Regions from separate parts of the Homo sapiens genome. Here regions 2, 3, 4 and 5 are each linked to region 1. Evidence: promoter capture Hi-C in human tissues and cell types (Jung and others, 2019). All regions are on one chromosome and are shown on one strand. Each heading gives the region's core, a stretch centred on a gene start or on the middle of the fragment in contact. The rest is flanking DNA. Distances are from core to core; before and after follow the strand shown.

What was found. Contacts are between HindIII fragments. The study calls those that stand out against the background at their distance.
Region 2: a fragment that was not itself captured here is called in contact with the fragment with the promoter of A4GALT in region 1 in 3 of the 25 tissues and cell types used here (IMR-90 fibroblasts, aorta and mesenchymal stem cells).
Region 3: a contact is called between a fragment that was not itself captured here and the fragment with the promoter of A4GALT in region 1, in 5 of the 25 tissues and cell types used here (H1 embryonic stem cells, aorta, liver and 2 more).
Region 4: a fragment that was not itself captured here is called in contact with the fragment with the promoter of A4GALT in region 1 in 3 of the 25 tissues and cell types used here (lymphoblastoid cells, mesenchymal stem cells and spleen).
Region 5: the fragment with the promoter of PACSIN2 here is called in contact with the fragment with the promoter of A4GALT in region 1 in 4 of the 25 tissues and cell types used here (liver, lymphoblastoid cells, mesenchymal stem cells and 1 more).

The regions. Positions count from the first base shown.
Region 1 is chr22:42,718,180-42,723,995 of GRCh38, forward strand. It overlaps A4GALT (alpha 1,4-galactosyltransferase (P1PK blood group)), which reads right to left and starts at 2,691. Exons shown (of 3, transcript NM_017436.7): 1 at 2,618-2,691. RefSeq lists silencers at 2,131-2,260, 2,341-2,570, 2,601-2,790. The HindIII fragment of the contact is 38,593 bases long and covers 1-5,816 here.
Region 2 is chr22:43,136,215-43,142,030 of GRCh38, forward strand. MCAT (malonyl-CoA-acyl carrier protein transacylase) reads right to left here. Exons shown (of 4, transcript NM_173467.5): 2 at 4,948-5,035; 3 at 867-1,084. Among named protein-coding and RNA genes, the nearest start is that of MCAT, 4.3 kb to the right of the region's middle. RefSeq lists an enhancer at 1,225-1,394. The HindIII fragment of the contact is 7,455 bases long and covers 1-5,816 here.
Region 3 is chr22:43,090,751-43,096,566 of GRCh38, forward strand. It overlaps the pseudogene RPS25P10. Among named protein-coding and RNA genes, the nearest start is that of TTLL1, 4.3 kb to the left of the region's middle. The HindIII fragment of the contact is 8,604 bases long and covers 1-5,816 here.
Region 4 is chr22:43,059,378-43,065,193 of GRCh38, forward strand. It overlaps TTLL1 (TTL family tubulin polyglutamylase complex subunit L1), which reads right to left. Exons shown (of 11, transcript NM_012263.5): 6 at 4,813-4,947; 7 at 4,436-4,544; 8 at 7-150. Among named protein-coding and RNA genes, the nearest start is that of TTLL1-AS1, 24 kb to the left of the region's middle. The HindIII fragment of the contact is 4,055 bases long and covers 67-4,121 here.
Region 5 is chr22:43,012,083-43,017,898 of GRCh38, forward strand. It overlaps PACSIN2 (protein kinase C and casein kinase substrate in neurons 2), which reads right to left and starts at 3,067. Exons shown (of 11, transcript NM_001184970.3): 1 at 2,939-3,067. RefSeq lists enhancers at 2,669-3,372, 3,355-3,554 and silencers at 2,795-2,864, 2,985-3,034, 3,045-3,234. The HindIII fragment of the contact is 29,159 bases long and covers 1-5,816 here.

The sequences.
Region 1 (5,816 bases), core at 1,441-3,940:
GAATGCTCGTGAAATTATACTAATGGAAAAATATTTTATATAGACAAGATATGCAAATACAGAAAAACGTGTTATTTTATTATTTATTTATTTATTTTTGGAGACGGAGTCTCGCTCTGTTGCTCAGGCTGGAGTGCAGTGGCGCCATCTCGGCTCACTGCACTCTCTGCCTCCCAGGTTCAAATGATTCTCCTGCCTCAGCCTCCTGAGTAGCTGGGATTGCAGGCACGTGCCACCACGCCCAGTTAATTTATTGTATTTTTAGTGGAGATGGGGGGTTTCACCAAGTTGGCCAGGCTGGTCTCGAACTCCTGACTTCAAGTGATCCACCCGCCTCAGCCTCCCAAAGTGCTGGGATTACAGGCGTGAGCCACCTCGCCCGGCTGGAAAAACGTGTTTTTAAAGGTCTGGCAAAAAAAAAGGCAAATGTTAACAATAGTTGTCTTCAAGTATGCAAACAGGAATTGTTTTTCCTACTTCTTTCGGTTAATTCATTCAAACAATATTCAGGAAGCACCTGCTAGGTGCCAGGCCTGGCACTAGGCTCTGGGATCTGGACAAGGGTCCTTCCCTCCAGGAGCTTCCAATCTGGAGGGAAGCATGCGGTGAGCCAATGAAAATGCAGGGTGATCAACAGGAGTTTGTGAGCACGCCTAGCAGGTCCCCAAAGAAGGAGGCAGCTGGGGAGAGTGAGAGGAGGTGCACTTCAGAACTCAGATGGCTGGCTTGGTGGTGGAGGCCGTCCACCTGCCACCACCTTCCGGGACCTGCATCCCCAGCTGAACTGCATCCTTGGAGGTCTGAACCCAGTGGCCCCGTGGCCAGGTGGGCTTGGGAGTTGCTAGCTGGGGCTGATGTGGTAGTTCACAACCTCCTGGTGTTCCACACAAACCACCTGGAGATTCTGCCAATCCTGCTCCACACTGGGGTCCCAGGGCCCATCACACGAACTGGAAATTAATGGACCCATTAACCTAGCAGCTAGAGGGCTTCAATTAGTACAAGGAAACAAAACATATTTTGTAGATGGCTGTCCATTTTGGAGTTTATCCTCTAATACTGAGCTGTCCTAGCAGACAAGAAACGACAGGCACCCAAGGCATTAGAAAAATGTTTGAGAGAAAAACTAATGACAACATTGGGTGTAGTGGTGTGTGCCTGCAGTCTCAGCCACTAGGGAAGCTGGGGTGGGAGGATCGCTTGAGCCTAGCAGTTTGAGACTACAGTGAGCTGCCACAGCATTCCAGCCTGGGTGACAGAGGGAGACCCTAAAAAACAAACAAACAGAAAACTAATGACAGAGAGGATTCCATCTCTCCTCTTCCTTTCTTTTCCTTTCTATTTTGTTTTCCTTTGTATTCCTTTGATTTGGGGACCCTCTTTTGGGGGGTTGCAGCTATGGAAACACAGTGTAGCAGGGTTTCGGGTCCTGGAGAAGGTTTGAGGCTGGAAGAGGGCTGTGGGAAATCTTGAGGGAGGCCTGGCTCCATCCGCACTCTGCTATGGGACCCTGGGCAGGGTGGCTCCCTCATTCTTTGGGAGGAGGTGACAAAGGGGAAGTCTTTGGGCAGCTGGTGGCGGGAACGGGAAGGCCAGACCTGGCCTGAGACCCACCAGGTGCTCGGGGTTATTTGCTGAGTGCAGGGTACGTGACCCCAAGGGGCCTTCGCGGAACAATCACTCGACGTTGGCGGAGGGGAGGAAGCCGCAGAGAGGGTGTCGTGAGGGAAAGGTGGGTGCAGGGGAAATGGCGCTTTAACCCACTCAGGGCCAGAGGCTCAGCCGAGACTATCCAGGTGGGAACTTGTCCCTCCGGATGACAGGTGATGAAACTGAGGGAAGGGGACTCGCCCTGGCAGTGAAACGGGATGGGCGCTGGGACCAGGTGCCCCGGCAGATCCTCTCCCAAGCCCAGTTCCGCTCCCGCTCAGTCCTCAACCTTCCCCAGCTGGAGAGGAGGGAGGGGCGCCTGCGGATCCGAGGCGAGCGCGGAGGCCGGGCGACTCCAACCGGCTCGCCCCGTGCCCAGCTCGTACCCAGGCCGTTTCCCGCACGGGGAGGGCCCTTCCCGCTTCTGGGCAGGTCCAAATCCTCACCCTCCCTAAGGCCGGCGCCGACGCTGCCAGCCCGGCAGAGCCCCCTCCTGCCGGCCGCTCTCCATCCCCGTCCCCGGTCGCATCCGCTCCGGGGCGAGCACCGCCCGACGCCCAGGCTTCCCCCGGACGGAGGAGCGCGACTCACCCACGGTGGCCGGGCAGAGCCTGCCTCGAACCCGGCTTCTCCCCGACGCCCTCTCTCCAGCCCCGGGACCCAACCGGGTGGGGCTGCCCTCGAGGGCTCCGGAGCCAGGCGCGTCCTGCCCGCGAGGGCCGGGGCTCCGGGTCCCGCCGCCGCGCTCCACTTCGGGGCGCAGTTGGGGTGGAGGCGGTGGCCGGGACCGCCGCGCGGGGTTCGTGCGCGCACAAATGTCGCCTCCAGAACAGGTGGCCCGGGCTAGGGCGGCGGCCCAGCCCCTCCGCCCCTGCCCCTGCCTTCCCGAGGCGCCTCCTCCCCACTGCGAGCCGCAGGATCCCCCTGGAGCCCCCGTCCCCCGCAACATCGGCGCGGCCCCTCGTACCTCTAGCTCCAGCGGCGGCGGGCGGCGGACAGCGGGGCCCCGGCGGGCGGGCGGCGCGGCGGCCGGAGGGCAGTGCCTGGGGCCCGGCGGGAGGCAGCACCGCCCCTCCGGCCCGGGGCGGGGTCAGGCCGCCCCGCCCCGCCCGTCCCGACCTACCCTGCGGGTCCCGGTCCCCAGAGCCCTTGCGGGGTCCCCGCGACCCCGCCCGCGCGCCCTCGCTGCTCCCCGGGGCGGGTGCGGACAGTCCCCAGTCCGCCGGCCAACAGGTAGGGAGCGCTCCCCGGCCTCCGCGCCGCCAGTATTACGGGTTACCATCCCGTTTTCCCCATTGAACTGATGAGAAAACTGAGGTTCAGAGGGTTGAGTACCTCGATATTCTGCAGTGGAGAAGGGACGCTGTCACCCCTGGGACCCGGGTCGGCCTGATCCCACCGCCTCCTGCCGGGACCGTGCTAAGGGCATTGCCTGCATCACCCCAGTGTTTGCGGAATTCCAGTTATTTGCTGTATCCTTAACGCCGCCCCGTCCTTTCTCTACTCCTCCTCCTCACTCTCACCTCGCCCCATCTTCACACATATTGCTATTGGTAATTTGTTCAATGTGAGAAATTGGAATGTATCACACACAATTCGTGTATCATAAAACTGTATTTTATTCTCTTTGGAACATGCCATGTTTCCAGCATGTCACAGTCCTGGTGCTTTTAGTTCTTACTCCTCTGGGACAACAAAGACTGCAAAAAATGAAACCATTGGGTGACTTCTTGAGTGCTGACGCCCATCCTCTCACTCAGCTGATGACCCAGTGCCCAAGCCACTGAGAAAATGGAACCTCTATCCTAGCCCTGAGAAAGAGCCTGGCACTCAATGGGTGCCCAATAAATACACTTCGAATGAAGGAATCAGTAGAAAATTCCCACCAGCTCCCCCACCCACCCGCTGAGGTAGCACCCAGTCCCTTCCCTCTTGGGACCGGGCTGAACCCGTCCAGCTCCTGGCCACGACCACCCCCTCCAGAAGATCCCGACCCTTCACGCCAACACTGATCCCGAAACCCTGCCCTCTCTCCATTCTCCCTGGGTCATTCCCATCACAGGCTGTTACTTCTCCCATCTTAAAACGGAAACAAGAGGCCAGGCAAGCACTCACGCCTGTAATCCCAGCACTTTGGGAGGCCAAAGCAAGCAGGTCACCTGAGATCAGAAGTTCAAGACCAGCCTGGCCAACATGGTGAAACTCCATCTCTACAAAATACAAAAATTAGCTGGACATGCTCACTTGAACCCAGGAGGTGGAGGTTGCAGTGAGCCTAGATCATGCCACTGCACTCCAGCCTGGGTGACAAGAGCCAGACTCTGTCTCAAAAAAAAAAAAAAAAAAAAAAAAAAAAAGAATGAATGCGGACCCTTTCTCCACTGGTAATACTCATTTTTTTTTTTTTTTTTTTTTTTTTTTGAGAAGAGACTCACTCTGTTACCTAGGCTGGAGTGCAGTGACACCATCTCGGCTCACTGAAACCTCTGTCTCCTGGTTTCAAGTGATTCTCCTGCCTCAGCCTCCTGAGTAGCTGGGACTACAGGCATGCACAACCATGGCTAATTTTTGTATTTTTAGTAGAGACAGGGTTTCACCATGTTGGCCAGGCTGGTCTTGAACTCCTGACCTCAAGTGATTCACCCGCCTCAGCCTCCCACAGTGTGGTGATTACAGATGTGAGCCACGGCACCTGGCCCACTTGTAATACTTTTAATGCTTTTGCTTTATGTTGGCTTTTCCATGATCACAAATGTATTTTTCAGAGAAACTTTGTATTGCTACCCTAAATGGAACACCAGTATCTCAGAGACTAGAAGGCAACAGTAAAAATAAAACTAAAACAATGTTATAAAGCCCGGGTAGGTCCTGTTGCCCCTCCAAGAGCTGAGTTCCTCCTGCCCTCTCCTTGTTAAAAGGAAGATTCATCCCAGCACTTTGGGAGACCGAGGCGGGCAGATCACAAGGGCAGGAGATCGAGACCATCCTGGCTAACAAGGTGAAACCCCGTCTCTACTAAAAATACAAAAAAATCAGCCAGGCGTGGTGGCGGGCACCTGTAGTCCCAGCTACTCAGGAGGCTGAGGCAGGAGAATGGCGTGAACCCGGGAGGCGGAGCTTGCAGTGAGCCGAGATCGCGCCACTGCACTCCAGCCTGGGCGACAGAGTGAGACTCCGTCTCAAAAAAAGAAAAAAAAGGAAGATTCGAAAGGTGTAGAGAGATATTCAAGGCAGGCCAGCACCCAGCAAAGACTTGCCCCTGGACTTAAGCAAAGGGATTAAAGAGAATTGAGAAGGGAATGGCTTTCTTAGAATAGCCATCGCTGGAGCTGTGCCCAGACCCACAAGCTCTTCCTGGCTATGTCTGGGGAAACGGTCTCCTTGCAGCTTGTTAATCTCACAACCCTCTGAGGTCACCCTGTTATCCCCATTTTACAGATGAAAAAAACGGAGGCTGGGCCAGGCGCAATGGCTCACGCCTGTAATCCCAGCACTTTGGCAGGCCAAGGCGGGCGGATCATGAGGTCAGGAGATCGAGACCATCCTGGCCAACATGGTGAAACCCCGTCTCTACTAAAAATACAAAAATTAGCTGGGCGTGGCGGCGTGCCCCTGTAGTCCCAGCTCCTCGGGAGGCTGAGGCAGGAGAATCACTCGAACCTGGGAGGCAGAGGTTGCAGTGAGCTGAGATCATGCCACTGCACTCCAGTATGGCGACAGAGCGAGACTTCATCTCAAAAACAAACAAACAAAAAAAAACGGAGGCTGTTGGCTGGGTGCAGTGGTTTAAGCCTGTAATCCCAGCACTTGGGTGGCCGAGGCATGCGGATCACCTAAGCTCGGGTGTTCAAGACCAGCCTGGCCAACATGGCAAAATCCCATCTCTACTAAAAATACAAAAATTAGCCAGATGTGGTGGTGCCTGCCTGTCATCCCTGCTACTCAGGAGGCTGAGGCAGAATTGCTCGAACCTGGGAGGCAGAGATTGCAGTGAGCCGAGATCATGCCACTGCACTCCAGCCTAGGTGAGAGCGAGACCCCGTCCCAGAAAAAAGAAAAATACTGAGCCCAAGATGGAAATTAACCTAAGCTCACAGAGGCTGAGGCAGTAGGATCATTTGAACCCAGGAGTTCAAGACCAGCCTGGGCAACATAAAATGATCCTA
Region 2 (5,816 bases), core at 1,574-4,073, 420 kb after region 1:
GCCTAGGCAACACAGTGAGACCCTGTCTCAAACAAACAAACAAAAAAAGAATCCCTTCCTTCCATATAGCACAGGATGGGCTGTGAGGGACATGAAGTAAGACAGAAATGCCTGGCCCGGGCAGCAGCCCCTCACACGGGCTGCAATCTGCGCTCACTCAGCATTCCCTGAGCCAGGCACTCAGCACCCACTGCTCTTTCTGTAGGGGGCTCCTGCCGCTCTGCTCAGGGTGCCCCCTGCTGGCAAACACATGCCCGTCCTCCAGCTGCTGCCTCCTGGGTTGCTCTTAGGCCCATGAGTAGCCAGCCAGACCCTCACTGCACCCCTCGGCCTGGAGTCATCCATTCACGGGGCTCTTCCTTTGACGGCAGGAACCCTGGCTAATCAGTCTGTGCGTCCCCAGCCCTTGATAAATGTTTGGGGAAGTAGCAAATGGAAGGAAATACGGTGGAAAGGAAATGAACTCCAGGGCAAAAACAGACACCTAAAAAAAGCAGGGCAGGCAGAGCAATCTAGCAGAAAACAAATCTCTTTTCTCTAAGGAAGCAACCAGATCACAGGCTCCTCAGAAGCCCAGAATGTACTACGGGAAGGGCCCTGGAGATCAGCTGGCCCTGCCCCTTTACTTTAGACATGGGCTGGCTGGTTGGTTCCAGACCCCATTCTACACGTGGTGGAGCAGGGCAGCATTCTTGCTCCTGCCTGCTTTGCAGCACTCGGTCTACCTCACTGCCCTGGCCCCAAAATACTTCCTAAAGACCGGGCTGGACCCAGCACCCGCCAGACTGCTAGGCCTCACGGGTGTGGAGCAGTTCCAACCCTCCGTACTGGACTGGCCTATGAAGGCAGTTCCCATCAACACCCACCTCTTGGTGTCCTGAAATCACCCTGCAATCTGGAAAGAGGTAGTTGGACACTTCACATACGGGGTTCTCTATGCCTAAAGACTTGCAGTGTTCCCGGGCTTCCAAACAGGCGAAGTTGAACTTGGACTGAGGCTGGCCGAGGACAGACAGCATCCCACTGGGGACAGCTTCTGAAGCTTCCTGCATGGCCTCAGCTCGGATTTTCACTGCATACAAACCTGGCCAGAGAGAAGCGCATTTGGAAAAATGAGGGCACAGAATGAAGGAGAAAAGGCCAGGCCTGAGAAACAAAGCCCAAGCTCCACTCTGCACTAGAGACAGGGGCACTGGTGTCTGCCACCAGCCAGCAGGGCCACAGTTCCACACACCTCCATCGACTGCACAAGCGCTCACCACCAAAAGTATGCTGCTGTGCTTGGCACTATACAAACTAACCCAAGGAGCTTCCTGCTATAAAGCTGGTTTGGAGTAGGACAGTGGTGCTCAACAGGCCGGGGGCAGTGTCCGGAGACGTTTTCCGGTTGTTCTGACTAGGGGAGAGTGCCACTGACGTCTAGTGGGTAGAGTCCAGGGATGCTGCTCAACATGCTGCACTGCACAGGTCAGCCCCCCTTGCCCCCAACAAAACAAATGACCTGGCCCAATAGCGCCACTGTTTTTTTTTTTTTTTAAATAGTGCCACTATTGAGAAACCCTGGTAAAAGGTAAAGAGGAACAGGGTGGAAGCCACATTGCCTTAGCCAAGTCACAACCTCCTTGAGGTTCAAATTTTTAGTTAGTAAAATGAGGATAATAATATCTAATCTGCCTGGGCTGTTGTGAAAGCTGGGAATTATTATTAGTTAGTTTATTAAGAGAGATCAGGCCGGGCATGGTGGCTTATGCCTGTAATCCCAGCACTTTGGGAGGCTGAGGCAGGACGGCTTGAGCCCAAGGAGCTCGACACCAGCCTGAGCAACATAGGGAGACCCTGTCCCTGCAAAAAATAAAATACAAATTAGCCAGGCATGGTGGTGCCTGCCTGTAGTCCCAGATGCTTGGGAGGCTGACACGGAAGGATCACTTGTGACCAGCAGGTTGAGGCTGCAGCTGTAGTAAGCTATGATTGCTCCACTGCACACCAGCCTGGTGACAGAGCAAGACCCTGTCTCAAAACAAGAACAACAAAAAAGAACCATCAGAGACATGGGCTACTGTACTACATGAATTTCAGTGACATAATTGTCATAAGTCAAGTGTTACTGTCCCCACTTAGAGCTGGAGAACCTGACACAGCCAATGCAGATGAACGAAAACCTATGACTCCTGATTCAGTGTGGCTCAAGAGCATGGAGAGAGGGCAGGCAGTGCCAATGATAATAAGAGTGGCCTGAGGGCTGGTCGCTGTGGCTCGCACCTGTAGTTCCGGCACTTTGGGAGGCCAAGGCAGGCAGATCACTTGAGCTCAGGAGTTCGAGACCAGACTAGACAACATGGTAAAACCCTGTCACTACCAAAAATACAAAAATTAGCCGGGCGTGGCAGTGTGCGCCTGTGGTCCCAGCTACTTGGGAGGCTGAGGTGGGAGGATTGCTGGAGCCCAGGAAGTTGAGGCTACAGTGAGCTGTGTTCATGCCACTGTATTCCAGCCTGGGTGACAGAGCGAGACCCTGTCTCAAAAATCCCTACAAAGCCACACATAAGAATGGCCTGAAACTACCAGACCCCTGACACCCTGGTCCTGCTTCCTGGGCAGAGAGAAGAGATGACCAGACTGAGAAGAGATTAAGGGACCTGCACAGTGTTTCACAGGTCAACAGAGAGGTCTAAGGAGCAAATCCTGACATATCTTCATTCACTTAGCACTTCTATGTACTGGACTTTTAGCTCCCTTACACAAGAACAGGAGGACAAATACATAAACAGCCTGTGACATCAGGTACTTAGGAGGCTAAGGCAGGAGGACTGCTTGAGATCAGGAGTTAGAGGCTGCAGTGAGCTATGGTTGCATCACTGCACTCAAGGCTGGAAGACAGAGGAAAACTCTGTCTCTTAAAAAACAAATGAACAAGAGCCTGTGACAAGAAGTAGAAGAAAACATACAAGAAAAGGGAGGAGAGCACGCAGACATCCTCCCACAGAGACATTCAAAACTATGTAAAATGTCAAGGGAAAAAAGTAGGCCAGGCACAGTGGCTAATGCCTGTAAGTAATCCCAGCACTGTAGGAGGCTGAAGCTGGAGGATCACTTGAGTCAGGAGTTCCAGACCAGCCCTGGCAACATAGCGAGACCCCATCTCTACAAAAACTTCTAAAATTAGCTGGGCATGATGGTGTGAGCCTGTAGTCCCAGTTAGTCTGGAGACTGAAGCGGGAGGATCACTTGAGGCCAAGAGGCTGAGGCTGCAGTGAGCTACGACTGCACCACTGCACTGCAGCTGGGGTGACAGAGCAAGATACTGCCTCAAAAAAGAAAAAGAAAAAGAAAACACAAAAGTGTAACTATGCTATAATTCTGCACTTTTTTTTTTTTTTTTGACACAGAGTCTCATTCTCTAACCCAAGCTGGAGTGCAGTGGCACAATCTCGGCTCACTGCAACCTCTGCCTCCTGGTTCAAGTGATTCTTGTGCCTCAGCCTCCCAAGTAGCTAAGATTACAGGTGCACGCCACCACACCCAGATAATTTTTGAATTTTTAGTAGAGATGGGGTTTTACCACGTTGGTCAGGCTGGTCTCAAACTCCTGCCTTAGGTGATCCACCCACCTTGGCCTCCCAAAGTGCTGGGCTGGGATTACAGGCGTGAGCCACCACACCAAGCCTAATTCTGCACATTATGTACACATAAAATGATACATGTAATAAAATTGTTTCATAAAATGTGAAATTATGAAACTTTCCTTAATAATGTTATAACGCTTAAAAAAAAAGCACTGCAGTGAAATTCACATAAAATATAATTAACCACTTTAATGTGTATAATTCAGTGGTATTTGGGGTATTCATAATGTTGTACAACCACCAACTCTCTCTAGTTTCAAACACTCCATGTCCACTATGTAGGCACTCTCCATTTCTCCCTCTCCAGTCCCAATAACCTCTCGTGTTTCTATACTAGATTCTTTTTTGTTTGTTTTGGACAGGGTCTTGCTCTGTCACCCATGCCGCAGTGCAGTGGCACAATCGTGGCTCACTGCAGCCTCAGACTCAGGGGCTCAAGTGATCTTCCCTCAGCCTCCTGAGTAGCTGGAATTACAGATGCATGCCACTAAGTGCAGCTAATTTTGTGTATGTGTGTGTGTGTGACAGGGTGTCACTCTGTCACCCAGGCTGGAATGCAGTGGCACGATCACAGCTCACTGCAGCTTTGACCTCCTGGGTTCAGGTAATCCTCCCACCTCATCCTCCCAAGTACTCGAGCTGGGACTACAGGCGCACACCAACATGCCTGGCTAATTTTTGTATTTTCGGTAGAGATGGGGTTTTCACCATGTTGCCCAGGGTGGTCTAAAACTCCTGGGCTCAAACATCTATCTGCCTCTGCCTCCCAAAGTGCTGGCATTACAGGTGTGAATCACTGCACCCAACGTAATTTTTGTTTTTTGTTGGGGGCAGAGATGAAGGTCTCACTATGTGGCCCAAGATGGTCTGGAACTCCTGGCCTCAAGTGGTCCTCCTGCCTTGGCCTCCCAAAGCACTGGGATTACAGACGTAAGCCATGGTTCCTGGCCAGCAAAAATCTTAAGAAGTAAAACTGATATGGCTCCAGATCCAATATTTATTTACTCTTTAATTCAACGAATATCTACTGAACACATACTCTCGTGTTGCAGGTGCTGCAGGTATGAGTGCACAGGATAGCGGGTTAGACAGTTCAGCAAGCAGATTTCATGAGATTACAAAAATAAGGGAAATCCCTAATGAATCCTTCAGTCTTGAAAAGGAATCACAGCAAAGCCCTGTCCTCATGTGCCAATGTCACCCCTGTCCATGTGCTCCCTTCCCATCACCTGAGTGGGTCCAGTATCATTTTTGGCAGTGTCCCTTACCCCTAATGAGCCCAAGACCACAGCCTTGCATAAAACCAAACTCCTTCCTGTACCTTCAGCAAATTCCATGGCTCCGGCAAACACTAGGGCTGCAAACTCTCCCACACTGAATCCAGCAGCAGCAACACAGTTCTCAATCACCTGTGGGGACAGATGCAGAACGTGAGCCCTCACTCTCCTGGGGATCCCAGTTCCAGGGCTCTGTACCTGAGAGCTGGCGGGGTGTTCAGCATCTCAGTGAGCCAGGTTCTACGAACTTGGTGCACCAGCTGGAAGAGGACACACAAAAGTGACCTTGACAATCATTGAGTCCTGCCCCTTTATTTAGGAGGAGCTTTCCTGGTTAGTTACAGTCCATCAACTCCGTCCATGGTCACACTGACGCCAACCCAGGGCTCTGGATTCCCTTGCCATGGCCCTGCAGCAGGCTCTCAGGCCATATCGTTGTGCACAAGTTAAGAGCATGACTTTTTTTTTTTTGAGGCGGAGTTTTGCTCTTGTTGCCCAGGCTGGAGTGCAATGGCGTGATCTCGGCTCACTGCAACGTCCGCCTCCCGGGTTCAAGCAATTCTCCTGCCTCAGCCTCCCGAGTTGCTGGGATTACAGGTGTCCACCACCACACTTGGCTAATTTTTGTATTTTTAGTAGAGACGGGGTTTCACCATGTTGGCCAGGCTGGTTTTGAACTCCTGACCTCGTGATGCACCCACCTCAGCCTCCTGAAGTGCTGGATTATAGGCATTATAGGCGTGAGCCACCTCGCCCGGCCAAGAGCATTTTTATCTCATCTGTGAAATGAGGGAAGAACAGGGCCTACCCCAAAGGGCGGATGAGAGAATTATGTGAATATAATGTCTATACAGTGCTTAGCACAGACCCAGACTAGGGTAAGCAGTGAATGAATATTATGATGACGATTCAA
Region 3 (5,816 bases), core at 1,806-4,305, 370 kb after region 1:
CAGGAGGCTGAGGTGGATCACTTGAGCCTAGGAGATTGAGGCTGCAGTGAGCTATGATCCCGCCACTACACTACAGCCTGGCCAACAGAACAAGACTCTGTCTCTTAGAGAAAAAAAGTTAAAAAAAACAACAACAAAAAAAGAATTTTAAGGCAGGGCATGGTGCCTTACGCCTGTAATCCCAGCACTTTGGGAGGCCGAGGCGGGTGGATCACCTAAGGTCAGCAGTTTGAGACCAGCCTGGCCAACATGGTGAAACCCCGTCTTTACTAAAAATACAAAAATTTGCCGGGCATGGTGGTGCGCACTTGTAATCCCAGCTACTTGGGAGGCTGAGGCAGGAGAATTGTTTGAGCCTGGGAGACAGAGGTTACAGTGAGCCGAGATCGCACTATTGCACTCCAGCCTGGGCAACAGGGCGAGACTCCGTCTTAAAAAAAAAAAAAGAACTTTAAGATGGCGACAGCAGCATTAAACTAACTTCAGGGCTTGTCTGAGCACGGGGTCCTATGGTTCTGTACAGGTCACAGGCCCATGAGGCTGGCCTTACCCTAAGAAGCTGGCCACAGCTCCCCTCAATGAATCCCCACAAGAACTCTGCTGAGTTAATGGTGTTATCACCACTTTTTAAAAAATAGTGGTAAATTGGCCGGGCGCAGTGGCTCACGCCTGTAATCTTAGCACTTTGGGAGGCCGAGGTGGGCGGATCATGAGGTCAAGAGATCGAGACCATTCTGGCCAACATGATGGAAACCCGTCTCTACTAAAAATACAAAAATTAGCCGGGCATGATGGCACACGCCTGTAGTCCCAGCTACTCAGGGAGCTGAGGCGGGAGAATCGCTTGAACCTGGGAGGCAGAGGTTGCAGTGAGCTGAGATCACACCACTGCACTCCAGCCTAGCGACAGAGCGAGACTCTGTCTAAAAACAAAAAAAAGAAAAAGTGGTAAAATATGTATAACATAAAACTTAACCATCTTAGCCATTTTTAAATGTACAGTTCAGTGATGTTAAATATATTCACGTTGTGCAATCAGTCTCCAGAACTTTATCCTCTTGCTAAACTAAAACTCTTTACCCATTGAACACAATTCCCCATCCTTCCTTCCCCAGCCCCTGGTAACTGCCTTTCTACTTTCTGTCTTAATGAATTAGACTCCCTAAGTACCTCATCTAAGTGGAATCTGGGCCAGGCACAGTGGCTCATGCCTGTAATCCCAGCATTTTGGGAGCCTGAGGCAGGAGGATTGCCTGAGCCCAGGAGTTTGAGACCAGCCTGGGCAACATAGGGCGACCTCGTCTCTGCAAAAAAAAAAAAAAAGAAGAAGAAGAAGAAAGAAAGAGAAGGAAGGAAGGGAGGGAGGGAGGGAAGAAAGGGTTCGCTGCTGCTCTCTGAGCTTCGCCGTGCTATCAATGGATGACAAGAAGAACGAAGACACCGGAAAGTCGCTAAGAAAGACAAAGATTCAGTGAACAAATCTGGGGGCAGGGCCCAAAAGAAGAAGTGGTTCAAAGGCAAAGTCCGGGACAAGCTCAATAACTGAGTCGTGTTTGACAAACCTACCTATGACAAACTCTGTAAGGAACTTCCTAACCATAAACTTATAAGCCCTGCTGTGGTCTCTGAGAAACTGAAGATTCGAGGCTTCCTGGCCAGGGCAGCCCTTCAGGAGAACCTTAGTAAAGGACTTAACAAACTGGTTTCAAAGCACAGAGCTCAAGTAATTTACATCAGAAATACCAAGGGTGGAGATGTTATAGCTGCTGGTGATGATACATGAACAGGTCCAACCAACTGTACATTTGCAAAAATAAAACTTTATTAAATCAAAAAAAGAGGCCAGGCGCGGTGGCTCATGCCTATAATCCCACACTTTGGGAGGCCGAGGTGGGTGGATCACCTGAGCTCAGGAGTTCGAGACCAGCCTGGCCAACATGGCGAAACCCCGTCTCTACTAAAAATACAAAACTTAGCAGGGCATGGTGGCATGTGCCTGTAGTCCCAGCCACTAGGGGGGCTGAGGCAGGAGGATCGCTTGAACCCAGGAGGCGGAGGTTGCAGTGAGCCAAGATCATGCCACTGCACTCCAGCCTGGGCGACAGAGTGAGACTCCATCTCCAAAAAAAAAAAAAAAAAGAAAGAAAAAGAAGAAAGGAAGAAAGTAGAATCATACAGTATTTGTTATTTATTTATTTATTTATTTTTAGAGAGGACGTCTTGCTCTGTGGCCCATGCTGGGTGCAGTGGCAGGATCATAGCTCACTGTAACCTTGAGCTCTGGACCTCAAGTGATCCTCCTTCCTCAGCCTCTAGAGCAATTAGGACTACAGGCATGTGCCACCACACTCAGCTAATTTTTGTCTTTTTGTGACTGGCTTATTTCATGTAGCATAATGCCCTCAGGTTCATTCCTGTTGTAGTATGGATTTCCTTTTTTTTTTTTTTTAAGGCTGAAAACATTTCATTGTATGTTTTTAAGGCATTTAAAAAAATCCAGGGCGGGGGGAGGGGGGAGGGATAGCATTAGGAGATATACCTAATGTAAATGACGATTTAATGGGTGCAGCACACCAACATGGCACATGTATACGTATGTAACAAACCTGCACGTTGTGCACATGTACCCTAAAACTTAAAGTATAATTAAAAAAAAAAAATCCAGGGCCAGGCTTGGTGGCTCATGCCTATAATCCCAGCTCTTTGGGAGGCCCAGGCAGGCAGATCACCTGAAGTCAGGAGTTCAAGACCAGCCTGGCCAACGTGGCAAAACCCCGTCTCTATTAAAAATACAAAAATTAGCCGGGCATGGTGGCGGGCGCCTGTAATCCCAGCCACTCGGGAGGCTGAGACAGGAGAATCACTTGAACCCAGGAGGCGGAGATTGCAGTGAGCCGAAATCATGCCACTGCACTCCAGCCTAGGGGATAGAGCGAGAACCCGCCACCCAAAAAAAAAAAATCCATTCATCAGTTTCTACCTTTTGGCTATTGTGATTAATGCTACTATGAACACGGGTGTATATCTGAGACCCTGCTTTTAATTCTTTTTTTTTTTCTTAATAACTGAGATCAGGTCTCACTATGTTGCCTAGGCTGTCTCCAACTCCTGGGCTCAAGTGATCCGCCTGCCTTGGCCTTCCAAAGTGGTGGCATTACAGGCATGAACCACCACCCCAGGCTCCTTGCTTTCAGTTATCTGGGGTATGTACCCAGCGTGAGACTGCTGGATCATGTAGGAATTCTATATTGAACTTTCCGAGGACTCTCCATAAGGTTTTCCACAGCAGCTGCACCATTTCACATTCCCACCAACAGTGCCAGAGTTCCAATTCCTCCACATCCTGGACAATACCTGTTATCTTCTATTTTTTGATAGCAGTTATTCTAACGGGTGTGACATCCTCCCTGCCTTGTAAATATGGGAACTGAAGCTTGAAGGTGGTGAGTAACTTGCCCAAGGCCAGGCAGCAATCACTACAGCAGTCATCGTCACTGGGCAGATGTCTCAACACATCAGCCCCACTCACACTGCCACCAGGAGGCCAGCTCGCCGCTGTCACAGTGCCAGCCAATAGCACACACAAGTACTTCACCTTCGCTCCAGTCTGATGCTCCCTGAGGCCAACAGGAGCCCTCAGGCACGCCCCATGCCACTGCAGCCCCCTGGCCAGCCAGCTGGACCCGAACCTGCCTAGACCTGGCCATGCTCCTCCCCATGCTGCCCCACCCTCAGCCTCTAGCAGCCTTGCCCCCTTCTCCCCCACTTCCCACCACAGGCCCTGACTTCCCAGGGTCTCTGTCCCCTCCTCCCTCCCCCTTGCAGCATGGAGGTGGGAAGGCTGCCTCTTCTCCAGGTGAAAGAACCAGGTGCTCTCGGGATCTCTCCTTATCCTCCTTGCCCATTTACCTGAGCACCTAGAAGGATTAGGGAGAGGCCAGACAGCTGGGCCTCAGGCTCTGGCTTTGTCAGGCCCTTTTCTAGCCCCAAGGGGCTGAGGCCCAGAGCGCAGGCCTCCTGGCCTAGGGCCAAAGGGTGGAGTCCCTGGGGGCTCAGAGAACAATAAGAAAGCCAGCCGGGTGCAGTGGCTCACACCTGTAATCCCAGCACTGTGGGATGCTGAGACAGGTGGATTACCTGAGGCCAAGAGTTTGAGATCAGCCTGGCTAACTTGACGAAACCCTGGCTCTACCAAAAATACAAAAAATTAGCCAGGCGTGGTGGCACGTGCCTGTAATCCCAGCTACTCTGGAGGCTGAAGCACGAGAATTGCTTGAACCTGGGAGGCGGAGGTTGCAGTGTGCCGAGATTGCACCATTGCACTCCAGCCTGGGCAACAGAGGGAGACTCAGTCTCAAAAAAAAAAAAAAAAAGAAAAGAAAATAATCTTCAATCCCCAGAGCTGGTGGGAGACGAGGGCCGCCCCTACCTGTTATTCCTCCAAGAACCGCCCACAGGGTGGCTGTTTGTTTCCCTTGGGGGGCCTGGCTTTCCATTCCCTCCTTCTCTCCCCCTTCCCTTCTCATCCATTTCCACCCCTTTGCCCTCCTGCTGGGCAACCAAGTCCCCCGTGCCCCAGTTCCCCAGTCCTGGGGACCCAAGTGTCCACCCAGGTAAAGCCGAGGAGGTGTCCGGTCAGGGAAGGTTAAAGGACAATAACAAAAGTACCGACTGGTACCCCAGAGAGCCTCCCCACAAGTGGACTTCGAGTGCTTAACCTCTGCTCGCTCCTGCTCTTTACAATGGAGTTAATAATAGAACCAGCTTCCCGGGGCAGCTGTGACGATCAGATGAGACCATGCCAGTGACCGTGCTCAGCATGCAGCCCGCACAGAGGGCAGCTCCTAGGAAGACTGTTCATGATCAATCAAGGGGAAGCTGCTCAGAGAGGACCGCATGCCCAGAGTGTGAGAGTGTGTGTGAGTGTGAGTATATGTGGGTTGTGTGTGAGTGCATGGGTGTTGTGTGTGTGTGTTATTGTGTGTGTGGTGTGTTTGTGTGAGTGTGAGAGTGTGTGTGAGTGTGAGTGTGTGTTGTGTGTGAGTGTATGTGTGTTGTGTGTGTGAATGAGTGTTATTGTGTGTGTGGTGTGTTTGTGTGAGTGTGAGAGTGTGTGTGTGGTGTGTGTGTGTGTGTGTGAGAAATGGGAAAGTTCTTCAAAGATTATAAAAAGTCACAATTTCTTACTGTAAGATTGCTATCCACTATATATATATATATAGTGTCCTATCAGCTGTCCTAGCTTGCTCCGGCATGCCTGGACAGAACTAGACAAGCCCCAGCCGGGCCGGGTGCGGTGGCTCAGGCCTGTAATCCCAGCACTTTGGGAGGCCGAGGCGGGTGGATCACGAGGTCAGGAGATGGAGACCATCCTGGCTAACATGGTGAAACCCCATCTCTACTAAAAATACAAAAAATTAGCCTGGGAGGTGGCAGGCGCCTGTAGTCCCAGCTACTCGGGAGGCTGAGGCAGGAGAATGGCGTGAACCCAGGGGGCGGAGTCTGCAGTGAGGCGAGATTGTGCCACTGCATTCCAGCCTGGGTGACAGCGAGACTCCGTCTCAAAAAAAAAAAAAAAAAAAAAAAAAAGAATAGAAAGCCCCAGCCCATAGTGCGTCCCATTCCTTATTTGGAGATGCTCCCTTAACTATCCCTGGGCAACTTCCTTTTCTTTCTTTGTTCTGTCCCCCTTACCCAATTAAAACGTTTTAAACCAATAGCCAATCGAGTAAAGTGTAAAATGTGAGGTCCTATTCCAGCCAATGGAAACTGGACACAGCAGTAGGGTAGATGCGTTAGGTTATAAATAACAGTCT
Region 4 (5,816 bases), core at 844-3,343, 340 kb after region 1:
ACTCACCGCCACAGCCTTCAGGGACTGCACGATGATCCAGTGGATCTCGTCGAACAGCTTGCTGGTCACCTCCTTGCCGCGGGTGCTCTCCAGGTAGAGCCGCAGGTTACTCACTGTCCACTTGCCCCCATGGATGTGGTTGTAGTCCTCCTGGTGACGGGAAAGCGGGCAGGCATCCCTCAGGCTATGCACCCCAGAGGAACCCAGCGGAACCGTTGCATCCCCCAAGCATTTCTGGAGTGCCCCCTGGGTGTGGGCATCCAGCAACAAGGCAAACATCCAGACCCCTGCCCCAGGGAGATCTGGGCCGGCTATTTTCCGTTTTGTTTTAAGACAGGGTCTCACTCTGTCCCCCAAGCTGGAGTGCGGTGGCATTACTTTGGTGCACTGCAACCTTGACCTCTTGAGCTCAAGCAATCCTCCCACCTCAGCCTCTCAAGTAACTGGGACTACAGGCATGTGCCACTATGCCTGGCTAATTTTTAAATTTTTTGTAGAGAAGAGGTCTCACTATGTTGCCCAGACTGGTCTTGAACTCCTGGCCTCAAGGGATCCTCCTGCCTTGGCCTCCCAAAGTGTTGGGATTACAGGCATGAGCCACTGTGCCCGGCCACCTGGGCCTCCTATTAATGTGGGGTTTTTCTGTTTTTATTTTTGTTTTTTGAGACAGAGTCTCACTCTGTCACCCAGGCTGGAGTGCAATGGCACGATCTCGGCTTACTGCACTGTGAGCCACCGCGCTTGGCCTTCCGTGGGTATTTTAAAATGCTCATCTCCCTAATACTCTCAGGCTTAATCATTTATGCCTCACAGCACAGGCTGTGGAGTGCTGCCGGGATACCCTTCAAGACCAAGGCACTCATTCTTCTAGCTGAGACCCACCCTCACTGAGAGTGCCCTTGGCTTGAGGGAGCTGCCTAATCCAGGGTGAAAGCCCTCCCCAAGGCAACAGCATACCATGTCTGGCTGATGCCAGGTGTCAGCCCCTGCTCCCTCCAGGACAGCTCTGCAGGGCCACCCCTGCTCCACAGCGCCCCACGGTGGGCAGAGGCCTCCACTGCAGCAACATCAGCTTGCCGACTTCTACCTCAGAGTCTTTCCTGGGGAAGCCAACCTAAGACACTGGGCTCACACTGCAGTTTAAAAGCACCACACTCATCACTCTCTAACAACCTTGAGAAGACGCCATTATCATCCCATTTCACAGGGGACGCCGGGCTCAGAGAAGCTGTTACTTGGCCAAGCTTTCCTCCTGGGCTGGGATGGGGCTGGGCCTCCAGCCCAAATGTTCTGATGCCACTTCTGAGCTCTTCCTGTTTTGCCACCCCTGAAAATTAATTCTCCATACAATGCTTATCTTTGAAGGCAAAGAGCTAGAAAATACCCAAATGTATTACATTGTTAGGAGACTACATTTCATTTTCTAAGTATAAAGTGAGAACCATGAACTAAAACAAAACCAGCCTACTAACTCTTCGAGCAAACACCACTGACTCAAAGCAGATAAAAGGAGAATTAACCATATTTTAAAAGAAAGTCCAGGCGCGGTGGCTCACGCCTGTAATCCCAGCACTTTGGGAAGCTGGGGTGAGAGGATCACCTGAGGTCAGGAGTTCGAGACCAGCCTGGCCAACATGGTGAAACCTCGTCTCTACTAAAAACCCCAGCCAGGTGTGGTGGCGTGCACCTGTAACCCCAGTTACTCGGGGGGCTGAGGCAGAAGAATCGCTTGAACCCGGAAGGCAGAGGTTGCAGTGAGCCGAGATCCTGCCACTGTACTCCAGCGTGGGTGACAGAGCAAGACTCTGTCTAAAAAAACTAATAATCATAAATACATAAATAAAAAATAAAATTTGTAAAACTGATGCTTGCTTGGTTTACTCTGAGGAAGACCTGAAGGGGAAGCGAGTTAGGCCAGCCACATGTGGAAGCCACTTGGCCCCGGTAAGCAGTGGCCATCGTCATCCCAAGACCAGCAAGGTGAACCCCTGGCTCCTGTTGGCAGCTGTGGGGCCCAGAGGGCTGGTGAGCTGCCCAAGTCACACAGAGGTAAGTGATGGGCAGAGGACCGAGTCCAGCCTCGTCTGACCAAACTCTTCAGCAGGTTCTTCAGAAATGCATATTTCATACCAATACTCACTCTCTTTCTCCTCAAATCAGAAAACAGACCAGAGCATTCAAGGCTTCCATCCAAAGAAGATTCAAATCAAAGAAGGAGTCTTTCATAAAGAAACGAGACCTTTGGTTTATGTTGGGGTGAAATTAGAGCCCCTAACCTGAACTGGGTCCACAAAGCCCTGTGTGTCTGCCCTTGCTGGCCTCTCCAGTCCCTCCCCATCCACTGCCCTCACGCCAGGGGCTCCTGCTACCCTGGCGTCCTTTCAGCCCCTGTAATGCTCCCTCTGGCAACAGGGCCTCGGCACACGTTGTACCTACTACTATGGAACCTTCTCCACCCTCTCTGGATTATCCCTACTCATGCTTCAGATCTCGGCTCCAGCACCGCTTTGCAGGGAAGCCTTCTCCAACCACTGGATAAGGGGCTTCTTTTGTTCCATGATCTTCTAGATGTGTGTTCCTCACTTTCAGAGCAAGCAGCTCAGTTTGTAATTTCATGTTCATCAGGGTGATTATTTGATGACTATCTCCCCTGGAAGCTCTGGGATCTGTGAGAGTAGGTACTAAGGTAGGCTTTGCCTATCACTGTGTCCTGGGCACTCAGAAGGGGACCAACTCACATAGGTACTCAATGGGTACAGATGGGGCCTCCGATGGGGCTATGTCCAGATAAACCCATAGCAAGTTGAAAATATTGTAAGTTGAAAGTAGATTTGGCCGGGCGCAGTAGCTCACACCTCTAATCCCAGCACTTTGGGAGGCCGAGGAGGGTGGATCACGAGGTCAAGAGATCAAGACCATTCTGGCCAACATGGGGAAATCCCATCTCTACTAAAAATACAAAAATTAGCTGGGCGTGGTGGCGCACGCCTGTGATCCCAGCTACTCAGGAGGCTGAGGCAGGAGAATCGCTTGAACCTGGGAGGCGGAGGTTGCAGTGAGCTGAGATCACGGCACTGCACTCCAGCCTGGCAACAGAGCAAGACTCTGTCTCTTAAAAAAAAAAAAGAAAAGAAAAGAAAAAAGAAAAAAAAAGAAACTGCATTATTTAACGCCAGGCGCAGTGGCACACGCCTGTAATCCCAGCACTTTGGGAGGTTGAGGTGGGCGGATCACTTGAGAAAATGAGTTCGAGACCAGCCTGGCCAACATGGTGAAACCCCATCTCTACTAAAATACAAAAATTAGCCAGGCATGGTGACACATGCTTGTAGTCTCAGCTCCTCAGGAGGCTGAGGCAGGAGAATCACTTGAACCTGGGAGACAGGTTGTGGTGAGCTGAGATCATGCCACTGCACTCTAGCCGGGGCAACAGAGCGAGACTCCGCCTCAAAAAGAAAAAAAAAGTGCGTTTTCTATACCTAACCTACTGAATATCATAGCCTTGCCTATCTAAGACATGCTTAGAACACTTACAATAGCCTGAAGTTGGGCAAAATCATCTAAGGCAAAGCCTATTTTATAATAAAGCGTGAAATACCTCACATAATTTATTGACTACTGTACTCAAAGTAAAAAACCAAACGGTTGCATGTGTACTTGAAGTACGGTTCCTACTGAATGCATGTCACTTTCATACCACTGGAAGCTTGAAAAATTGTAAGTTGAGGCAGGGTACCTCAGGGATGGTCTAAGCAGAAGTCACCTCATGACATCCTCCCACAGTCCCGCCAGGTAATACTATGATCTCCTTTTATAAATGGAGAAACCGAGGCTCTGAGAGTTACACTGACTTGCCCGAGGCCACAGAACTAGAAAGGCAGGGCTTGAGCCTGCTGCCTTCTTTCTCCAGGTGCCCCCACCCAGCCACGGCATTCAGCTGATGTGTCCTAGGCCAGCCCGCCTGATGCCTAGAGCCTCCCAGTCCCATCAGTGCCGGACCTTAGACCAGGATACTCTTTGAGTATCACTTCTATACCCACCCTGTTCTTGCAAAAATAGAAGAAAGAAACCCACAAAGTCGGTCCTTTTTTTTTTTTTTTTCTTTTGAGACAGAGTCTCGCTCAGTTGTCCAGGCTGGAGTGCAATGGTGCAATCTCGGCTCACTGCAACCTTTGCCTTCTGGTTCAAGCGATTCTCCTGCCTCAGCCTCCCGAGTAGCTAGAATTACAGGCGCCAGCCACCATGGTAATTTCCGTATTTTTTTTTTTAGTAGAGACAGGGTTTCATTGTGTTCGTCAGGCTGGTCTCGAACTCCTGACCTCAGGTGATCCACCCGCCTCAGCCTCCCAAAGTGCCGGGATTACAGGCGTGAGCCACCACACCCGGCCTGAAAGTCAGTCCATTTCTGTAAGCACAAATGAAAGGACACACTCACCCCGTGTTTCTGGATGGCGACGTTGGTGAGATGAACGAACATGTTGTCCAGCTCACTGGTACTCGGGGTGTATTTCACTGTGCAGAACCGGCAAAACCCAAGCTTGTACCTAGGAGGGAATGTAGATTAATTCAAACTCTGAGGAGAAACAAAAAGAAAAGACACCACTTCATTCTCTAAAAAGAGCTGCTTTTGTGTGTGTGATTTACACGACTCACATCGGCATCGGGCCTGACTGCTCTTACTTCCCTCAATCCCTGCCCCGTGCCAGGCACCGCACATGCACTGTTTTATGAAACCTCACAATGGTGCTAAGAAGAAAGACGTTTTGGGTGAAAACACAATCAAGAGGGAACCAAAACCTTAGGGACGCTTACATGTAACAGCGCAGTGGACGGTACGTGGACACCAGAACGTACAAGCGCAGGTCGAACTTCCTCCCGCCAATTAGTAACGGGTTGTTAATATAGAGAGAGATCACGTAGGCTTCCTTATTAGATTGAGACACAAACCTAAACATGGCAGAGAAAGTAAAAATTAGATGGTAAAAGATGCAATAACGAAGACACAATCCAAGAAAGGAATAACTGATAAGCCGGACTTCATTAAAATTAAAAAATTAAAGAGTTTTGGCTGGGCGCGGTGGCTCACGCCTGTAATCCCAGCACTTTGGGAGGCGAGGCGGGTGGATCACTTCAGGTCGGGAGTTCAAGACGAGCCTGGTCAACACGGTGAAACCCCGTCTCTGCTAAAAAGAAAAAAAATTAGCCCGGTGTGGTGGTGTGTGCCTGTAGTCCCAGATACTCAGGAGGCTGTGGCAGGAGAATCACTTGAACCCAAGAGGTGGAGGTTGCAGTGAGCTGAGATGGCACCACTGCACTCCAGCCTGGGTGACAGAGCAAGACTCCATCTCAAATAAATAAATAAGTAAATAAATAAATAAAGACAGTAAAAAGATCTGTGGTTGCCACAGACTAGGGATAAACAGGCAGAGCACAGAGGATTTTGAGGGCAGTGAAACTACTCCGTATGTTACTATGATGGTGGATCTGGACGAGCTTGGTGGCTCACGCCTGTAATCCCAGCACTTTGGGAGGCCGAGGCGGGTGGATCACCTGAGGTCAGGAGTTCGAGACCAGCCTGGCCAACATGGTGAAACCCTGTCTCTACTAAAAATACAAAAATAGCCAGGCATGGGGGCGGGTGCCTGTAATTCCAGCTACTCCAGAGGCTGAGGCAGGATAATCGCTTGAACCCGGGAGGCAGAGTTTGCAGTGAACCAAGATCCTGCCACCGCACTCCAGCCTGGGCAATAGAGCAAGACTCCATCTCAAAAAATAAATAAATAAAATAATGGTGGATCCATGTCACTATACATTTG
Region 5 (5,816 bases), core at 1,817-4,316, 290 kb after region 1:
TACAGTGAGCTGAGATCGCACCACTGCCTCCAGCCCGGGCGACAGAGCGAGACTCTGTCTCAAAATAAATAAATACATACATACATACATACATACATACATACATACATACATACATACAAACATACAAAAACTAGCCAGGCAAGGTGGCAGGCGCCTGTAATCCCAACTACTGAGGAGGCTGAGGCAGAGGAATCATTTGAACCTGGGCAGAGACTCTCTCTCAAAAAAAAAAAAAAAAAAAAAGCAAGGACAAATGCCCCTCTGCTCCCACTCCAGAAATGCCTGGCCATCAGAGATGTGGATGGGTATCCAGGATTAGGGAAAAGTTCATGTTATCTCCCTGCAGAATGCTATGTTGGTGGAAATCCAGAATTTTTTTTAAATATATGCATACTTTTAGATTTATTTATTTTTAAACAGAGTCTCACTCTGTCACCCAGGCTAGAGTGCAGTGGTGTGATCTCAGTGCACTGCAACTTCCATCTCCCAGGTTCAAGCAATTATCATGCCACAGCCTCCCAAGTAGCTGAGGCTGAGATTACACGTGTGCACCACTACGCCAGACTAATTTTTTTTTTTTTTTGAAACAGGAGTTTTGCTCTTGTTGCCTAGGCTGGAGTGCAACGGCCGGATCTTGGCTCACCGCAACCTCCGCCTCCTGGGTTCAAGCAATTCTCCTTCCTCAGCCTCCCAAGTAGCTGGGATTACAGGTATGAGCACCACCACACCCAGCTAATTTTGTATTTTTAGTAGACATGGGGTTTCTCCATGTTGGTCAAGCTGGTCTCGAACTCCCGACCTCTGGTGATCCGCCCGCCTCTGCCTCCCAAAGTGCTGGAGATTACAGGCGTGAGCCACCACGCCCGGCCTTAATTTTTGTATCTTTAGTAGAGACGGGGTTTCACCATGTTAGCCAGGCTGGTCTCTAAGTTCTGACCTCAGGTGATCTGCCCGCCTCGGCCTTCCCAAGTGCTGGGATCCCAGGCGTGAGCCACCCCGCCCAGCCTAGATTATTTAAATATCACATCACAACTTCATATACATTTGAGATTAAAAGTGATAAAGTTCCAAGTCCCAAAGCAGCACGAGCTAAGGATACCATTTCCATTCAAATGAGTTGTTATTCTTCTCCCAAAAAGTGGATAAAGAGTGCAGACCTAATCACCCATCTACTTCTCTGTGTTATGTTACTTTCCCAAGTAATAAATATCACCAGCCTAATGGCCACTTTCTTTAAAGCTTTAAGTCTATTGTCAAAAGAAAAACACACCAATGTTTTTGATGTAGTGGCCTCATATCTCAACCAGCATAACCTCACCAAAGAGGCTACCAAACTCTAGAATTAAGTTTAAGTCCACACAAGTGAAAGTTTTCCAGGTGAATCAAGAGAGATCCAAGTTGCACTGGCACAGCTTCAATGTCTCCATGAGGAGGCTGCATGCAGGCAGGCTCATGAATCAAGTGGAACGACAACATCTTGGGCAAGAACAGGAGGGCTGGCATTCAACACTGCCTGCCTGGTCGGTTCCCTTGCCCTGGGCTCCAACCTGGCAATCCCAGGAGGGTTAAAACAGAACTTCAGCACACGGGAATAACCGCAGAGGAAGGCACCGAAAAGGAGGGAAGGAAGAAGGTGTGAGCTCACCATCTGCAGCTGAGGTTCAAACTCTTTGAGCTGGTTTCCTGATTTTCATCAAGACAGCCAGGCAGTATTTGGTAAACAGTGTACCAAGTAGCCCTGGAGACTCTGAGCAGCCTACCCCCTTAACCACAAAAACACCGGACAGGCGGAGGGAAAAAGAGAAGACAGGATCCAGGAATGGTGCACACACCCAGCCAAAGGCCACCTTCCCTCAGGCACCCAAGCCAAGAGTGGCATCCCCAGGTCCTGTTATACGTCAAAGGCTGCAGCCGTGTGGGCCCCAAAGCAATAGCACAGCTTGCTCCCCTGACCAACCAACTCCTTCTGAAAAGAAAATCGACCTTCTCTGATGGAGCCGAAACCCAATGAATCAATGAAATTCAACAGCAGCAGCAATCACTACCTCTCCAATTGCGGACCTCTCAGGATGCCTGGCCAGGCTTGAAAGCCCTAGAGGAGTAAGGAGTTCGGATTTCTGATTCAGTGAGTCTGGGGAAACTCTGAGGAGGGTCACAAGGGCAAACCTCCCCGGCCTCTCCTGCTTGGCCCCAGCCCTAGGACGTGCTGCGGTAAGGGCTTTGCTCCCCCCGCCCTACACACACACACACACACACACACACACACAGACACACACACACCACCCCCCCCCCCCCGGGACACGGAGGGTGGGAAGGAAGGAAATGGAGGCCGCTCATCAAAGCGCCCGAAATCAGCGCACCCGCGTGTGTCCTGCGTCGCCCCCCAGGCCACCCCAGGACTAAGCCCTGCCCTCTCACCGGCGCGTCCCAGCCACGCCTTCCCTCCAGCGTTGCTCCGGCACCCTCGCCTAACCTCTGCACGTCTCGGATTCCCAGCTTTCTCCTAAATCGCGTCCCTCCAAAAGTCGCCCCAGCTCCCCCTTCTGCAGCTGTCTACACCTCCCCCACTCATTAGCAGCTCTTAACCCCCGACGGCCCTGCTCCTGCACTTCCCTCTCCAGCAGGCCCCGGACCCCGGAAAACTGCCCCGCTCCCACAGCGCCGCCCCCATGGGCCCCCGCCCCTTCCCCGAGCCGACCCCACTCGCCCTCGTCCTCCCCAAGATGTCTTCTCCAGGCGCCCCCCGGGGCCCCGAGCACTCGCCCCCTCCCACAGAGACAGGAAGTTCCGCGCGGCCCGACCCGCTTCCCTCAGGGCGCGGAGCTCGGCGCGGCGGCCCTGACGGGGCGCGGGCCCGGCCGCGGACCAGCGCCCCCGCGTCCCGCCCGCGGCGCCCCAACCGTCGCGGCGACCCCTGACCTCGGCGGCCACTCACCTCCCAATCCGTCGCACACTCCGTTCAGGCTGCCACGGCGTCTCCAGACCCAGCTCCGGCCGGGCTCCCGCTACCGCTTTTGCTCCGGCAGCACTGCCCAGCCCTGCCCAGACCCCTGCGGCCGCTTCTGCCGCCAGCCGCGACCGCACCGCCCCCGCCGCTCCCGCTGGGCTCTGTCCATTGGCTACCGGACACCGAGCCCCGCCCCACAGCCTCCCCGGCGCCCCCGATTGGGCCAGATGAGTAGAGAGGCGGCTCACCCCGCGTGAGGACGAGGGAAAGCCCCAGGACGCGCATTGGTGACTTCTCCTGTCAATCAAACGGGGAGTGCCTATTTAATGGGCTGCGAGGGTGGCGCAGATTACTCTCCCAAAGCCGCTCGCTGGTGGTGGTCCTTGAGACGCGCTTCCCGGGGCTGGAGTTTTGCGGTTTCGTCGGCATCCAGGGGTAAGAGGGCGCGGCAGGGCAGCACCGCACCTGACCGGAAGTTCAGGGAAGGTAATCCTACAGTCTTTCAGAAAGTTTCCTCTCCCAAGGGACTCAAAGAAGCTAATGTCGTTAGGAGCTCCTCCGACTTGCGCCAAAAGCGTCATTCCACGTGGACCCGCTTAGTTTAAACGGGGGGTTGGGGGGGCGTATGTTGCTGCTCTCTCTAATAAAATATATTTGGATGGCAAGGCACCAGGCAATGCACACGCATTCTTTCCAATTCTCACAATCACCTTGCATGATAGGGTATTAGCCCCGTTCTGCAGAGGGAAATACTCTTGAAGGAAAATGGAGAGCACTTCCTGAGCACTGTCCTACGCGCTGTCCAAGCACTGCTTCATGTCATCCAGGTGGAGAGGATGGTGAGAGGAACCCCAGGTGAGGGGTGAGCCAGGTAACTTGCTGGGGGTGATGTGGAGTAAAGAGAGTAAATGGCAGAGCCAGGATTAGAAACCCAGGTCAGCCCAACCCTTGAGAATAATAATGATGACTGTGTAGCACTATGGGAAAATGCTTAAACTAAAACGTTAAAAGAAAAAGCCAGATAGAGCCAGGCATGGTGACATGCACCTGGAATCCCAGCTTCTTGGGACGCCGAGGCAGGAGAATCGCTTCAGCCCAGGAGTTTGAGGCCAACCTGGGCCACATAGCAAGACCCAGTTCTCTAAAAAGTAAAATAAAAGAAAATAATAATAAAAGAAAAAGCTAGATACAAAATGGTAGAAACTGTAGAATTGCTGCTACATATAGATAGGTATGAGAAAAGAGTCCACAAAGAAATCTAGTGGTTGTTTACTTTCTAGACTGCTCTGTGGCATTGTCCTTATGACAATAATTGAGAAAGAAACAAAAGAACCGGCTAGGCACGGTGGCTCACGCCTGGAATCCCAGTACTCTGGGAGGCCGAGGCGGGCAGATCACAAGGTCAGGAGTTTGAGACCAGCCTGGCCAACACAGTGAAAGCCTGTCTCTGCTAAAAATACAAAAAATTAGCTGGGTGTGGTGGCATGCACCTGTAATCCCAGCTACTTGGGAGTCTGAGGCAGGAGAATCACTTGAACCTGGGAGGCGGAGGTTGCAGTGAGCCAAGATCACGCCACTGTACTCCAGCCCTGGCGACAGTGCGAGACTCCATCTCAAAAAAAAAAAAAAAAAACCAACACACAGTGCCAGGACAAACCACTGCCAAGAAGTCTCTCCTCATTCTCCAGGACTGAGCCAACAGGGACCTCTTTGCCACCCACAATACCTGTGGACCATTTGTATAGATAGAACTCAGCCATCAGCTCTCAGCACTTTCATATCTGGGTAAGTTCCGCTTACATCGCAATTCCATGCCCTATAAAAATATAGAGCCTTGTCGGGCGCTGTGGCTCACGCCTGTAATCCTAGCACTTTGGGAGGCCGAGACGGGCGGATCACGAGGTCAGGAGATCAAGACCATCCTGGCTAACATGGTGAAACCCTGTCTCTACTAAAAATACAAAAAATTAGCCAGGCGTGGTGGCGGTCGCCTGTGGTCCCAGCTACTCGGGAGGCTGAGGCAGGAGAATGGCGTGAACCCGGGAGGCGGAGCTTGCAGTGAGCTGATATCGCGCCACTGCACTCCAGCCCGGGCAACAGAGTGAGACTCCGCCTCAAAAAAAAAAAGAAATACAGAGCCTCTCCCAAATTTTTGGGGGTTTTTGTTTTGGTTTGTTTGAGACAGGGTCTCACTCTGATGCCCAGGCTGGAATGCAGTGGCACAATGATGGCTCACTGCAGCCTTGACCTCCTAGGCTCAAGCCATCCTCCTGCCTCAGCCTCCCAAGTAGCTGCGACCACTGGTGCGCACCACCATGCCCAGTTAATTATTTTTTAAAATCTTTGTAGAGACAGAATCTCGCCATGTTGCCCAGGCTCGTCTTGAACTCCTGGGCTCAAGCAATCCTCCTGCCTCATCCTCCCAAAGTGCTGGGATTACACGCACGAGCCACTGTACGCAGCCTCTCCCAAGGTTTCTGAACAAGCGTCTGTCATCAGGCCTCCTGCTCTTCCACACACCGCATGCTCACTGGTCTCACCATCATCCCCTTATCCAGTTGCACGAATCCCCCTGCACTCCAAGCACTGCTGAGTCTAGCAGGGGTTCCTGAAGACTGGAAGCTGGAGAGAGGCATCAAGCCTGGCACTGCCCAGCAACAAGACAGGATGCCTCGTGAGCCTTTTTGGCTGCCTGGCCCCAGGAGTCACCACCTGGTCACGTGACCCATGCCACACTCTGGCCACTTCACATGCCTTTGGTTTTCTGCACTCTCCCCCTCTTCTTTTCTCTCCTCCTCCTTCTCAGGACAAACACAAAATTCCTTTCCTTGTCTTGCACCTAGCAGCTTGACATCATTGCCTGAAC